5 separate regions of the Homo sapiens genome follow, and all the other regions are linked to region 1. Evidence: promoter capture Hi-C in 16 types of primary human blood cells and fetal thymus (Javierre and others, 2016). All regions are on one chromosome and are shown on one strand. Each heading gives the region's core, a stretch centred on a gene start or on the middle of the fragment in contact. The rest is flanking DNA. Distances are from core to core; before and after follow the strand shown. Region 1 holds the start of MIR302CHG (miR-302/367 cluster host gene). Region 2 overlaps LINC02945 (long intergenic non-protein coding RNA 2945). Region 3 overlaps LINC02945 (long intergenic non-protein coding RNA 2945). Region 4 overlaps LINC02945 (long intergenic non-protein coding RNA 2945). Region 5 overlaps LOC105377370 (a long non-coding RNA gene).

Region 1 (2,788 bases), core at 214-2,713:
TTTTGCAATCTGATTAATCAGAGCAGTATTTACATCCCTCAATTTTCAGCTGTCTCCTGAAATGCAAGCTGGTAATAGCAATTTGGATTTGGCCAAATCCTTCACCAACATTGCAAAGAGGATCAAAATTTGTTTCTTAGTGACAGCTATAGGATTGTAGGACAGTATTTCAGATAAGGAGGGCTTACAGATAAACAAACCACCACCTCAATGGTATTCAAGTTAAAACCTGTGACTGATGAGTCTACGTAAAACCAAAACAACATACTAAGTGATGATGAATGTCAGTATAAGAAAATACTTAAAATATGTGGTATGTTACAGAGCATTTCACACTTTTTAAAAAGAAAAGGATTCACTTAAATGGGTGACAGGCAGGGTAAGGGTAAATAAGATATGGTACTCTCACCTAAAAGTATATAATTTCCCTAATAGAAAGTATTGCTACCAATGTGGTATAAAAGGCTACAGAAGATAGACTGTATAAAGCGAAAAAATTATAAACCTGTATGTACAGCAATTTGTAGCGTAAATTATATAGAAGTATGGGTTTTTTGGCACATGCGTGAAAAATTTTAAGAGGTTTTCAAAAATATTTTACTTTTCTATAATTAAAATTTTAAAGATAATCAGCACATAGGTAATACAAAAAAAATCAGTGCCAATAAAAATAAGCAAAAGTTACAATTTTCCTATAGAGAAGGATGTTTAAACTGTGCTTACATATAGATTTAGTGAGGAATTTCAGCCTCTAGATTTTGCTTCAAAATTAAACCTAAGAGTTACCATGGAATTAAAACTGTACAGTAGTTTACCATAGGGAAACAAATTCTAACTTGATTTGTTTTATCTTCCATATTCAAAACATTTTCACACAGGGAAATAATAAGAGAAGAAAGGAACAAATACCCTAGGGGCTCAAAATCATTACCCGGACTTGTTTCCTGCCAGGTAGAGGCTCTGTGCTAATGATCTTCACAATCACTCCACTCACGAACTGTGGTCCTGTTGCATTAACTTTCTCCTGGGTGCGACACTCTTCCCTGTTGGCTGCTGATTAGAAAAGGAAAAAGACCAGGACTAAATCTCTTACACTTAACAACAATTTAATACTTAGGAGGACTACCTTAGAATAATTCCTGAGGCAGATTTAAATAATTTAAAACGTATTTAATTTTAAAGTAAACAATTAAAGGTTATATGTCATACTGCTTATTTCAAAATACCATGAATAAAACTCAGAAAGTTTTATTATTCTACATGCAAATTGTTACTGCTAGAAGAGCATTCGTAAAGCCTTTAAATTTGCCCCTTCTCCCTGAACAAAGGAACAGTAAATTTTTACTCAATAAAGTTAAAAAAAAGTTAAAGGATACTGTGTTTTAAATACATTATTATTCAAACGTGAACATTTATTTTTACAAGAAATGAGAATTTAAAATGTATCCTAATTTTGAATTCATAGGAATTCTGCTTTAACTTGTTCCTGCTTGTGGTGCATACTACAGAATGAAATTAACAGGTGAGAAACTACAATCTTCATTCCTACAAACTTGCTCAGTCTGCAAACTCTGCACTCATGTGCTTGATGAAAACTGTAGAGAAAACTCAGGTTATTTAAAAAATTGTTTTAAATGAGCCTTTTAAATATTCTTATATCAAGAGTAAGTAACACATCTGGATAACTTAACAAATCAAGAATTGTTCTAATAATGAAATAGAATAATCAAGTTTTTTAAAATTAAAATTTATCTTATAACAACTCAGAGATAGCATTTACATATATAAGTACATTATAATGTTGTCAAAACTATCAGTGATCTTTACTTTTTTCATTTTTCATTCCAGTGTTTTGAGGTACTCCACTGTCTGTTTCCATTTCTGACTCTGATTTTATTTGGGATATTGTTTTTTTTAAAGAAGCCATGCTAGCTTTTTGTAGCGCTAAATACTCTTTTTTCAAATCCATCCATTCGCTCCTACAAGGAAAGAAATGGTGATAACAGATGACTAAATATAAAAAGTAAATAGGGAAATATCTAAATATATACATTCACAATGACTTGGAGCAACTCCTCCACCAACTTTCCTGTTTCTTTAAACACATATTCAAAATATTTCCTAGGTTCTAAAGACATTTAGCAAAATAAGCTAAGGGAGTTCCTCTTCCCCCAATATTCAGATTAAATGTTTTAAGATTGCCAATTAAATTTTTGAGTGTCTGAAGTATTTTAATTTATAAAAGTAAAATTTTAGCATTAATTCCTTAACTAGTAACATTTACTAAATCAGTCATCTCTGTGGGAAAAGGGCGAGATTAAAGATTTGTTAAACTGCTTCCAATTTGAGAGATAACATTCCTTAGTATTTACTTGAATCAAAAAGAATTTCTAAGTAGAACAAAACACCCCGTGGAAGCAATCTATTTATTTACATACATTTAACATGTAGATGCTTCTTCAAACAGAGTTCCTCCAGATAGAAACACAATGCCTTTCTCGGCTCAGTGGGAGCACTCATTGTTACCCTAATCTATGCCATCAAACAAGCAGATAGGAGATTTTCTTTTTCTTTTTCTTTTTTTTTTTTAAGAGGAAGATATCTTGTGGTAATGGTTTTAGCTGTTAACATTGACATCTGTATACTTCAAAAAAAAAAAAAAGGATCCAGACCCACCCAGGATCATACATTCCCTGAGAGCTGATACATTAAAATAACAAAAGGCCCTTGTAATGATTCTCTGAGATAAAAAGGCAAAAGGAATTCAAGAGTTAAGAATAGTATAAAT
Region 2 (2,788 bases), core at 92-2,591, 600 kb after region 1:
TTTTTGTTTGTTTGTTGTGACCCATGACTTCAGGAAAGGTTGCACCCTTGGAGCAGTGGTGACTATTACACTCAGAGCTGTTTTTCTTGTGCTTTGTATTTCATCACAAATAGCACTTCTATGATTCAGATTAGAAGAAGGGATATCTATTAAGATATTTCTGTTCTATATGTTTACAAGACTTATAAGAATAAATGAGTTAATGTATGTAAATGGTTTGGAATAGTGACTGACACATAGTAAGTGCTGTAAGTCTTAGCCATTATTATTATGATATTTGCTATTATTACTATTACTTGCTTGTCTCAATTGTTTGGCAAGTATTCTGCAAAGCTAACCCTGTAATGTCAGTATTTTTTCCTCATTTCAAGCACATCATTGCAATCTCAAATAGCTATACATATGTATTTTGAATTTCAGTTTCAATTCTAATGTAGAAAGTAATTTAAAAATACTTTTAAACTGTAAAATATAACATGCATACAGAATAGTCCACAGAACAAAAATATAGCTTAATGAGGCCGGGCACAGTGGCTCACGCCTGTAATCCCAGCACTTTGGGAGGCCGAGGTGGATGGATCAAGAGGTCAGGAGTTCAAGACCAGCCTGGCCAACATGGTGAAACCCCGTCTCTACTAAAAACACAAAAAAATTAGCCAGCATGGTGGCAGATGCCTGTATTCCCAGCTACTTGGGAGGCTGAGGCAGAGAATTGCTTGAACCCCGGATGCGGAGGTTGCAGTGAGCCGAGATCGTGCCACCGCACTCCAGCCTGGGCGACAGAGTGAGACTCCGTCTCAAAAAGAAGAAAAAAATATAGCTTAATGATTTGTTACAAACTAAACCCATGGAACTCACTCAAGTCAAGATTTAGTATTATCACCCTCTCAGAAGTGTCCTTCCAAACTTCCTCTCAGTCATTGCCCCCTGTATGCCTCCTAAAGTTAACTAATATCCTGACTAATATTGTAGTCATATCTTTGCTTTTTTTTTTTTGTGATGGAGTCTCACTCTGTCACCCAGGCTGGAGTGCAATGTCGAGATCTCAGCTCACTACAACCTCCACCTCCCAGGTTCAAGTGATTCTCCAGCCTTAGCCTCCTGAGTAGCTGGGATTACAGGCATGCACCTCCATGCCTGGCTAATTTTTGTGTTTTTTGTAGAGATGGGGTTTCACCATGGTGGCCAGGCTGGACCTGGCTGGGCGTGGTGGCTCATAGGTGGCCGGGGGTGGTGGCTCACATCTGTAATCTCAGCACTTTGGGAGGCCCAGGTGAGCGGATTCTTTGAGCTCAGGAGTTTGAGACAAGCCTAGGCAACATGGCGAAAACCCGCTCTAAAAAGAAAATAAAAAATTTGAGAATTTCATTGTATGAACATACTGTAATTTATCATTTTCCATTTACTGGTTGACATTTGTGCTGTTTCCAGTTTTTTGATATCATGAATAATGTTGCCATAAACATTCTTGAACATGTTTCTTGAAGCACATGTGCATACATTATTGTTAGTTATATAAGTGGAAATAGTGGGTCAAAAAGCATACATATCTTCCATTTTAAAAGATAGTTATATTGTCTTTCATATTATTTCTACTGACATTACTCCTGTTATTAGTGTTAAGAGTTCCCACTGTTCCACATTCTTTCAAATACTAATAGTATTTGACTTTTTCATTCTGGCCATTCTCATTGGTTACTGTAGTATCTCACAATGGCTTCAATTTCTGTTCCCCTTTTACTAATGACATTGAACACCTTTCATATTTTCCAGTCATTTAGATACCCTCTATTGTGAAGCATTTTTTTTTTTTTGAGGCAGAGTTGCACTCTTGTTGCCCAGGCTGCAGTGCAGTGGCACGATCTCGGCTCACCACAACCTCCGCCTCCTGGGTTCAAGTGATTTTCCTGCCTCAGCCTCCTGAGTAGCTGGGATTACAGGCATGCACCACCAGGCCCAGCTACTTTTGTATTTTTTGTAGAGATGGGGTTTCTCCATGTTGGTCAGGCTGGTCGCGAAGTCCCAACCTCAATTGATCCACCTGCCTCGGCCTCCTAAAATGCTGGGATTACAGGCATGAGGCACCGTGCCCGGCCTGAAGCACTTGTTTTAAGTCTGCTGCCCACATGACTATTGCATTGACTTTGTCTCATTGATCCATTGATTTGTTGTGGACCTGAGACTCTTACGGTGTCTTTTTAAAAAAAGGAAGTTTTGAACTTTAACCAACTCTTTCTTTATACCAACTCTTTCTTTCAATATACCAACTCTTTCTTTCATGATCTTTCATGTAGACTAAGTTTAATGTAGTCTGGTTTATCAACCCTTTCTTTCATGGTTTTTCTGTTTTGTTTAAGAAGTCTTCCCCTCCCGCAAGGTCATAAATATATTTTCTAATATAGTTTTTTAGAAGCTATGTGATTTGCCTTTCATATTTTTGTATATGGTGTGAGGTAAAGGCCAAATTTTATTTTTTCTTCACATGGGCACCCAATTGTCTTGGCACCAGTTGTTGAAATGATCATCCTTTCCATGCTGTTTAGCAGTGCTGTCTTTGTTATAAATCAGCTGTCCATACATGAATGTCTTTTGGATCTCTGTTCTATTCCAAAGATATATTTGTCATTCTTGTGTCAATACCATATTGTTTTAATAAGTGTAGTTTTATATAAATCTTGATATCAGGATAATTTTGGCCTTCATTATTTCCATATAAATTTAGCATCAGCTTGTTGAATTCTGCAAAACAAAACAAAATAGAGCCAAAGGCTGCTGGAATTTTTATTGG
Region 3 (2,788 bases), core at 81-2,580, 560 kb after region 1:
TCCTGAATACAGCACACTGATGGGTCTTGACTCTTTATCCAATTTGCCAGTCTGTGTCTTTTAATTGGAGCATTTAGTCCATTTACATTTAAAGTTAATATTGTTATGTGTGAATTTGATCCTGTCATGATGATGTTAGCTGGTGATTTTGCTCGTTAGTTGATGCAGTTTCTTCCTAGTCTGGATGGTCTTTACATTTTGGCATGATTTTGCAGTGGCTGGTACCGGTTGTTCCTTTCCATGTTTAGCGCTTCCTTCAGGAGCTCTTTTAGGGCAGGCCTGGTGGTGACAAAATCTCTCAGCATTTGCTTGTCTGTAAAGTATTTTATTTCTCCTTCACTTATGAATCTTAGTTTGACTGGATATGAAATTCTGGGTTGAAAATTCTTTTCTTTAAGAATGTTGAATATTGGCCCCCACTCTCTTCTGGCTTGTAGGGTTTCTGCTGAGAGATCTGCTGTTAGTCTGATGGGCTTCCCTTTGAGGGTAACTCACCTTTCTCTCTGGCCGCCCTTAACACTTTTTCCTTCATTTCAACTTTGGTGAATCTGACAATTATGTGTCTTGGAATTGCTCTTCTCAAGGAGTATCTTTGTGGCGTTCTCCATATTTCCTGAATCTGAACGTTGGCCTGCCTTGCTAGATTGGGGAAGTTCTCCTGGATAATATCCTGCAGAGTGTTTTCCAGCTTGGTTCCATTCTCCCCATCACTTTCAGGTACACCAATCAGACGTAGATTTGGTCTTTTCACATAGTCCCATATTTCTTGGAGGCTTTGCTCATTTCTTTTTATTCTTTTTTCTCTAAACTTCCCTTCTCGCTTCATTTCATTCATTTCATCTTCCATTGCTGATACCCTTTCTTCCAGTTGACCGCATCGGCTCCTGAGGCTTCTGCATTCTTCACGTAGTTCTCGAGCCTTGGTTTTCAGCTCCATCAGCTCCTTTAAGCACTTCTCTGTATTGGTTATTCTAGTTATACATTCTTCTAAATTTTTTTCAAAGTTTTCAACTTTTTTGCCTTTGGTTTGAATGTCCTCCCGTAGCTCAGAGTAATTTGATCGTCTGAAGCCTTCTTCTCTCACCTCGTCAAAGTCATTCTCCATCCAGCTTTGTTCTGTTGCTGGTGAGGAACTGCATTCCTTTGGAGGAGGAGAAGCGCTATGCGTTTTAGGGTTTCCCGTTTTTCTGTTCTGTTTTTTCCCCATCTTTGTGGTTTTATCTACTTTTGGTCTTTGATGATGGTGATGTACAGATGGGTTTTTGGTGTGGATGTCCTTTCTGTTTGTTAGTTTTCCTTCTAACAGACAGGACCCTCAGCTGCAGGTCTGTCGGAATACCCTGCCGTGTGAGGTGTCAGTGTGCCCCTGCTGAGGGGTGCCTCCCAGTTAGGCTGCTCGGGGGTCAGGGGTCAGGGACCCACTTGAGGAGGCAATCTCCCCATTCTCAGATCTCCAGCTGCATGCTGAGAGATCCACTGCTCTCTTCAAAGCTGTCAGACAGGGACATTTAAGTCTGCAGAGGTTACTGCTGTCTTTTTGTTTGTCTGTGCCCTGCCCCCAGAGGTGGAGCCTACAGAGGCAGGCAGGCCTCCTTGAGCTGTGGTGGGCTCCACCCAGTTCGAGCTTCCAGGCTGCTTTGTTTACCTAAGGAAGCCTGGGCAATGGCGGGCACCCCTCCCCCCAGCCTTGCTGCTGCCTTGCAGTTTGATCTCAGACTGCTGTGCTAGCAATCAGTGAGAGGACTCCGTGGGCGTAGGACCCTCCGAGCGAGGTGCGGGATATAATCTCGTGGTGCGCCGTTTTTTATGCCAGTCCGAAAAGCGCAATATTCGGGTGGGAGTGACCCGATTTTCCAGGTGCGTCCGTCACCCCTTTCTTTGACTCGGAAAGGGAACTCCCTGATCCATTGCACTTCCCAAGTGAGGCAATGCCTCGCCCTGCTTCGGCTCACGCACGGTGCGCACACCCACTGACCTGCGCCCACTGTCTGGCACTCCCTAGTGAGATGAACCCGGTACCTCAGATGGAAATGCAGAAATCACCCGTCTTCTGAGTCGCTCACGCTGGGAGCTGTAGACGGGAGCTGTTCCTATTCGGCCATCTTGGCTCCTCCTCCAAGAGGGCAATTTTATAATATATACCAAAAACTTTAAAATGTTCATATCCTTGAGACAGAAATTCCACCTCCAGGGATTTATCTTAAGGCTGCATAGAGACTTTTTTTGTGGTATCTACCCAGCCTATGCCTCCTTTCTTTGGACTCAAGGGAAAGACTCTCATGTCAGTGAGCTTGAGGAGGAGAGAAAGCCACTAGGTACAAGGAAGGGAAGAGTTATCAGTGGACAGCACAATGAATTCAGGCTATGACACATCCTGTCTGCTTCAAACAAACAGCAATGCTAGACAAGTTTTATAAGAAGATATGTGGAAGTACCTGGCCAACTCAAAACAAGGCAAACATTTCCATAGACCACAAATAAGACTTGAAAAATTATAGTAGGGAACAGAGATGAAATCAAGAGCCTGCCAGACTCCAGATCCCAATGTGGGCATCAAAGGCAAATAGGATTTTGGAGAAGATGCAGACCTCTGCCGCTGCCCCACCCCCGATACTGAAGAAAGCTCTTTTGTGAAATGTAAAGATCATCTCACATGGACAAAGCACTCAGGTGAGAAAGATGGGGTGGAAGAAGTGAGTATCATTTCTGGTGTTGATAAGTAGGGAATGACTGAGTGCATTTTTGAAGTGAGAAGTAGTTCCCCTCATCACAGACTAATGCCTAGAAT
Region 4 (2,788 bases), core at 181-2,680, 550 kb after region 1:
CAGGATATTAAAAAATAGGAAAGAGAGATTGTATAGAGCATGGTTAAAAGGAGAAAAAAATGGTTTCATGTTAGCATTCTACCAAGTTTAGACCACTTGAAAAATTTCATTAAAAGACGTACCCATTATTTAGCAGGGACAGGGTGTAGGGGAGTGGTATGTGGGAGACTGTGGAAGATGCCAGGTTGATGCCAAGAAGATGCTTATTTGTATAATTTTGCTTGGAACTTGAAATTCAAATTTCCATTGTAAATTATAATATATTGCAAAATGCTTTTTTGAGTTAGACATTCTGGATTTTTAACAAAACTCCAGAGAAGTTATATGATGCTGAGTCCATCTTAGATGATCTTCCCCCCACTGCTCACTAAGCTCCACCACATTGGACTTTCTCAATTTCTTAATGCGCCAAGCTCTTTGTTGTTCTAGGAACACTGCATATGTTCTGCTTAGAATAACTTCCCCCAAATCTTCACCTAGCTAACTCCTGTACATCCCTTAGGCCTTAAATTGCATATCCTATTTTAGAGAAGTTGTCTCTGATCCCACAGCATGAATTGGGTGCTTCCTTGTTATAATCATAGATGTCCCTCTTTTCTTTTTTTATCACTGCAATCTGTAATTATATATGTGTGTGTGTGTGTGTTTGTTTTTCTCATGTCTTATTCTTTCACTAAGTGGTAAGCCTCACAAGAGTAGGACTACTTCTGTCCTATTAATCACTATATAAGCAATATCTAGCACAATGCCTGAAAGATAGAGGTTACTTAATTAATCTTTTTTGAATCAATGAATAAATCAAAGTGCTTGCTTGGTTGTACTAAAACATTCATAGTATTTCTGAAGACTTTTTTTTTCTTTTTGTCTGGCATTGCCAGGCTACTCATACTGAGAGAGAGAGAGAATGAATAATTTACAGAATGAATATCTAGGCAACTTCAATTTAGGTGGTGTGCAGCAGAAATGAAGGGATAGAAGTGAAGCTTGAGACAAGGGATTTCAGAAAATTCTCCAAGTAGTCCCAGTGAGTATGAACTGGATCCTAATTGTGCGACAGGCTTCATTTCCTATGCTCCTTGATTTTTCGTCTCTGAACTGTTTAAGGATACAGAAGAAATGACCCATTCTCACTTAGAAAGAGTGACGAGCTTGTGGGGATGGGGATTTTTCCATTTTGTTTGAAACAAATTATGTACAGTGGAATACATGTAGGACTGAAATTATGGGAGCCTTAAATTTATTCTTCACAGGATTTTGAATCAAACAAATATTGATTAAGAATGTTTTGTAGGCCGGGCACGGTGGCTCACACCTGTAATCCCAGCACTTTCGGAGGCCGAGGCGGGCGGATCATGAGGTCAGGAGATCGACACCATCCTGGCTCACACGTGAAACCCTGTCTCTACTAAAAATACCAAAAAAAAAAAAAAAAAAAAAAATTAGCCGAGCGTGGTGGCGGGCGCCTGTAGTCCCAGCTACTTGGGAGGCTGAGGCAGGAGAATGGCATGAACCCGGGAGGCGGAGCTTGCAGTGAGCCGAGATCGCGCTGCTGCACTCCAGAATAATTTTGTATTATTTACAAAAGAATGTTTTGTAAATAATAATATAGTAATGCACTATGAAATAAGAAGTGGTCTGTAAAAGGAAAAAAAAAAAGGCCAAATTTTAAAATCAAAGGGTCACTTATTGTTTCAGGAAATAGCATGTCTTTATCATTGTCACAAAAACCAATAGCAGAAATAGAAATATGCGTCAGTGTTATTTAGGATTGCACTTGAACAATGCTAATTTGCACAAGGCAATTATTTTATAAACTTTTGAGGAATGGGGATTATGTAGAGATGAAGGTTAGAATAAAGGTAGGTATGTAAGCTTGTAGGGAGGAAGATTTGTTTGTCTCTACCCACGAATTGGGCCAATTCCCGGATGTCACATCACAAGCCAGATTCCAGAGGAAATGGCGGTTGACCTTTTATTTCTTGTTCAATGCCATTGGACAAAAACACGAGTTTAACTTTCAAGTTGCTTTTGGCAGAGGCCTTGGGGTTGCTCCTCTGCCCCCAGCTCTTTTCTGAGTGACACACAGAGCCTCAGCCATCCTTAACAGACGTGTTCTGAGTGCTGTTTCTTGGAATAGCAAATAATACGGCCAATACCTAATTTAGAACTTTTATTCTGTGCCAAGTGCTATGAGCTTATTTATGGATTATCTCATTTAATCCTCATTATTATTTATAATGTAGATGTTGTCATTATCTCCATTTTATGGATAATGACACTGAGGCTTAGAGAAGCTAACTCACTTGCCTAAGATTATATAGCCATTAAGTAGCAGTGACCAGATCTGAACCCAGGCAATTTGATTCTAAACTCTCTACTGCCTCTCTTAATGGCTGCCCATCAGGGAATTCACTCTTCATGGTGGATGTAGTGCAAACTTGATAGATAGAATGGAAGGCAAATGTTAAATGCTATATGACTTGCCTTACACTTATTCATGTCAGAGTGGAACTGCCAAAGGTCAGGATTGTTTGGAGGTCCATAAAAATTCTATATTGCTTGTCTTCCCTGTGCAAAGTGCTCATTGAACATCCTATCCCCAACCTACCCGACTCCTTCTCCATCTCTCATGGGGTAAAGAGGGGAAACAAACTCTTTGGCAAAAATAGACATTATGGTGTAAATCAACTAGGTAAATGAACATCCCCCCACCTTATCTTTATAAAGTATGAACATTGAAAGAAAATCAGAGTTTTTAAAAAGGCAAATTTTGCCATTACAATTTGAA
Region 5 (2,788 bases), core at 134-2,633, 530 kb after region 1:
TTTCTCTCATTTGTGGGCTGTCATTTTATATTCTTGATGATGTCCTTTAAGGCACAAAGATTTTGAATTTTGATGTTATAGCTAAGGTACCACTGCCTAATGTAAAGTCATAAAGATTTACTCCAATCTCTTCTTCTAAGAGTTTTATAGTTTTCACTCTTCCATTTAGATATATGATCCATTTAGCCTGAATTTTTGTGTATGGTATGATATAGGGGTTCAAATTCATTCTTTTGCATATGGGTAGAGAGTTGTTCTGGCATTATTTGTTGAAAATATATTCCTCCTCCATTGAACTGTCTTGGCACCTATGTTAAAAAATCAATTAACCATAAATTTAATGATTTATTCCTGGGATCTCCGTTCTTTTCTACTTATCTATATTTCTACCCTTATGCCAGTCCCATATTGTCTTGATTAATGTAGCTTTGTAGTAAGTTTTGATGTCAGAAAATGCAAGTCCTCAAACTTTGTTTTTTCAAATGTTGCTTTGGCTATGTTGGGTCCATTACATTTCCATATAAATTTTAGGATCAGCTTATCAGTTTCTGAAAAAAAAAAAGCCAGGAGTTCTCAATATTTACTGAGGAATAGTTTGTTATAAGACGACCTAGGTACCACGGAGACTACAGAGATGAAATCCAGTCTTTAATCCTAAAAGAATCAACAATCTTGTAATAACACATACATGTCAACCATCAGTTTATTGCCTCTCAGCTCCAGATTCACTCCACAATATATGCCCTTTGATAATAGGCAGAATTCTTTTAAGTGTCTCCTCCTTACAGTGAGCATAATGCTAAGTTTTCTTAGTAGAGGCTGTTGGAAAGATGTCTCCTGCTGTTTCTGGCTGCTCATGGCAAGTTGGTGGAGTGGGTTTGAAGACATTTGGTGGAACTCTGTTTTGGCCACATTCCTAGAATATGCAGTCACTAGGTAACCTTGTAGTTTCAGCCTATCCTGGCAATAAGCTTCCCATGGACCCCTTGGCATGGAAACTGGTGTCCCAAAGTCTTCCTGAACACATGAATGCCCCAATTCCCTGTGCAAGCCTGCATGTGGATTGTCAACAGCCTGAGAGTTTTCCCCTGAGACATTACTCTTTATTTGGGCTCTGTGGCTTGCCTGCTCCCTGGATTCCCACCACCTGTGTATAACCATGCATCTGGCTTCTGATCTGCTGAGCTCTGGCTGCACTCTGGAGGGATGCTTCCTGCTCTCCTAGTGACCCCAGACCAGCTCGGGCTAATGCAAACCAGTGAACTTTTCTGTTTCAGTTATCAGGCTAAACTATACCTTCTCCAATGAGGTCTGAACCCCAGGTCTGGGGAGGGGGCCCCCTTACAACTTTGTTCTTCCTTGATACTCTTATTCAGCCCTAGGGTTCCTTATAGTTTTCCTTTACTGTCCTTTTTTCTGTATATTCATTTATCAGAGTTTAATAATTCTTTATATTATACTTCTTCTATGTAACCCACTGTGTGATTGGATCCACACTAATACAACAAATAACATTACAGTTCGGAATTAGTAGGTTATATCTTAAGAGATCTGCCAGTGAGATAAGGATTTGGTGCTTACAGTCTGTTGATGGAATCAGGAAAGAATTAATGAGGGAGTGCAATTTAAGATGAGCCTTGAGGGATGGATAAAGATTTCCTTTGAACTTGCCATTAGGGAGCTTATCGTTTTAAGATGATTGCCCAGATCTCCACTTCAAGGGTAAAGACATTTACAAACTGAATTATACTATTTGTCCCAAACAGCTCTCCTTTACTCCTAACTGACAAGCTTACCCTGGATTTTGTTAATGGTCTGGGTGGAGTTGCTAAACAAGGATTTAGAGATGAGCAGAAGAGATACCTGAACCTAAGTGGGTCCCTGACCCCCAGACAAGAAATATTTAAATGACATAATCTCCTCAGAATTACTTAATTAAATGTCTGAAAGAAAGGCTTTGATGGACTGTTTAGTTTAGTTAGAAATGAACACCTACAGCCATATGTACCAATTAATTTCCTCTCCAAATGTTTGCATACTGTTGGGTAGATGTGGCCTACGTTTTGGAAGAATTTTTTTCCTTCGAAGTAGTCATTACACTGTTTTATTTCCTATATGAACACCGAGTACACATTACTTTTCATTTCTTTTTGCTTGCCAAGCCTTTTAATTTTCTTTCATCTCTTTACAAATATCGAATAAAAAATTACGATTTGCAGGGCTATTCAAAGCATAGTTCCTGGACCAACAGAATCAGCATCATTTGCGAGCTTATTAGAAAAGCAAATTTTGGGGCTCACCTCAGACTTAATGAATCAGAATATCTGAGGGGTGGGGCCCTGAATGTGTGTTTTAACCAGTTTTCTAGGTGATTTTATGCACACTAAAGTTTGAGAAGCGCCAGTTAGGATTTTACAAATTGCATTTCATTTGAGACACATTCTAGAATTTAAAAAATATCTGGGATCTTAAAAGCCACTTCCAGTTGGAAGTGTGTATCTCTAGCATCCCTGATAGGTTGGCATCTAAATGCTGCTTGACATTTTTTACAGACGTGAGTTCACCACCTCACAAATCAATCTGTTATATTTGGGAACAATTCAAATTATTGAAAAATCTCAAGGCCAGGCACAGTGGCTCTTGCTTGTAATCCCAGCACTTTGGGAAGCTGAGGTGGGAGGATCCCTTGAGCACCGGAGTTCAAGACCAGCCTGGGCAACACAGCAAGACTCCATCTCTATAAAAAATAAAAATAAAAATAAATAAATAAATTAGCTGGGCATGGTGG

The links. Contacts are between HindIII fragments. The CHiCAGO score rates a contact against its expected background, and 5 or more counts as called.
Region 2: a fragment that was not itself captured here is called in contact with the fragment with the promoter of MIR302CHG in region 1 in 1 of 17 cell types (neutrophils); the score reaches 6.5 in neutrophils.
Region 3: a contact is called between a fragment that was not itself captured here and the fragment with the promoter of MIR302CHG in region 1, in 1 of 17 cell types (fetal thymus). The highest score is 5.1, in fetal thymus.
Region 4: a fragment that was not itself captured here is called in contact with the fragment with the promoter of MIR302CHG in region 1 in 8 of 17 cell types (neutrophils, naive B cells, naive CD8 T cells and 5 more); the score reaches 17.5 in neutrophils.
Region 5: a fragment that was not itself captured here is called in contact with the fragment with the promoter of MIR302CHG in region 1 in 6 of 17 cell types (total B cells, naive CD8 T cells, naive B cells and 3 more); the score reaches 10.1 in total B cells.

The regions. Positions count from the first base shown.
Region 1 is chr4:112,648,726-112,651,513 of GRCh38, reverse strand. MIR302CHG (miR-302/367 cluster host gene) reads left to right here and starts at 1,463. Exons shown (of 3, transcript NR_146092.1): 1 at 1,463-1,522. LARP7 (La ribonucleoprotein 7, transcriptional regulator) reads right to left here. Exons shown (of 13, transcript NM_016648.4): 9 at 1,828-1,979; 10 at 932-1,053. RefSeq lists an enhancer at 1,921-2,643. The HindIII fragment of the contact is 6,288 bases long and covers 1-2,788 here.
Region 2 is chr4:112,048,311-112,051,098 of GRCh38, reverse strand. All of the region lies in intron 1 of LINC02945 (long intergenic non-protein coding RNA 2945), which reads left to right. Among named protein-coding and RNA genes, the nearest start is that of LINC02945, 63 kb to the left of the region's middle. RefSeq lists a silencer at 1,705-1,784. The HindIII fragment of the contact is 8,584 bases long and covers 1-2,788 here.
Region 3 is chr4:112,085,793-112,088,580 of GRCh38, reverse strand. The region is part of intron 1 of LINC02945 (long intergenic non-protein coding RNA 2945); the gene reads left to right. Among named protein-coding and RNA genes, the nearest start is that of LINC02945, 25 kb to the left of the region's middle. RefSeq lists an enhancer at 1,246-1,814. The HindIII fragment of the contact is 5,743 bases long and covers 1-2,788 here.
Region 4 is chr4:112,102,345-112,105,132 of GRCh38, reverse strand. The region is part of intron 1 of LINC02945 (long intergenic non-protein coding RNA 2945); the gene reads left to right. Among named protein-coding and RNA genes, the nearest start is that of LINC02945, 8.5 kb to the left of the region's middle. The HindIII fragment of the contact is 889 bases long and covers 986-1,874 here.
Region 5 is chr4:112,122,414-112,125,201 of GRCh38, reverse strand. All of the region lies in intron 2 of LOC105377370 (a long non-coding RNA gene), which reads left to right. Among named protein-coding and RNA genes, the nearest start is that of LINC02945, 12 kb to the right of the region's middle. The HindIII fragment of the contact is 820 bases long and covers 974-1,793 here.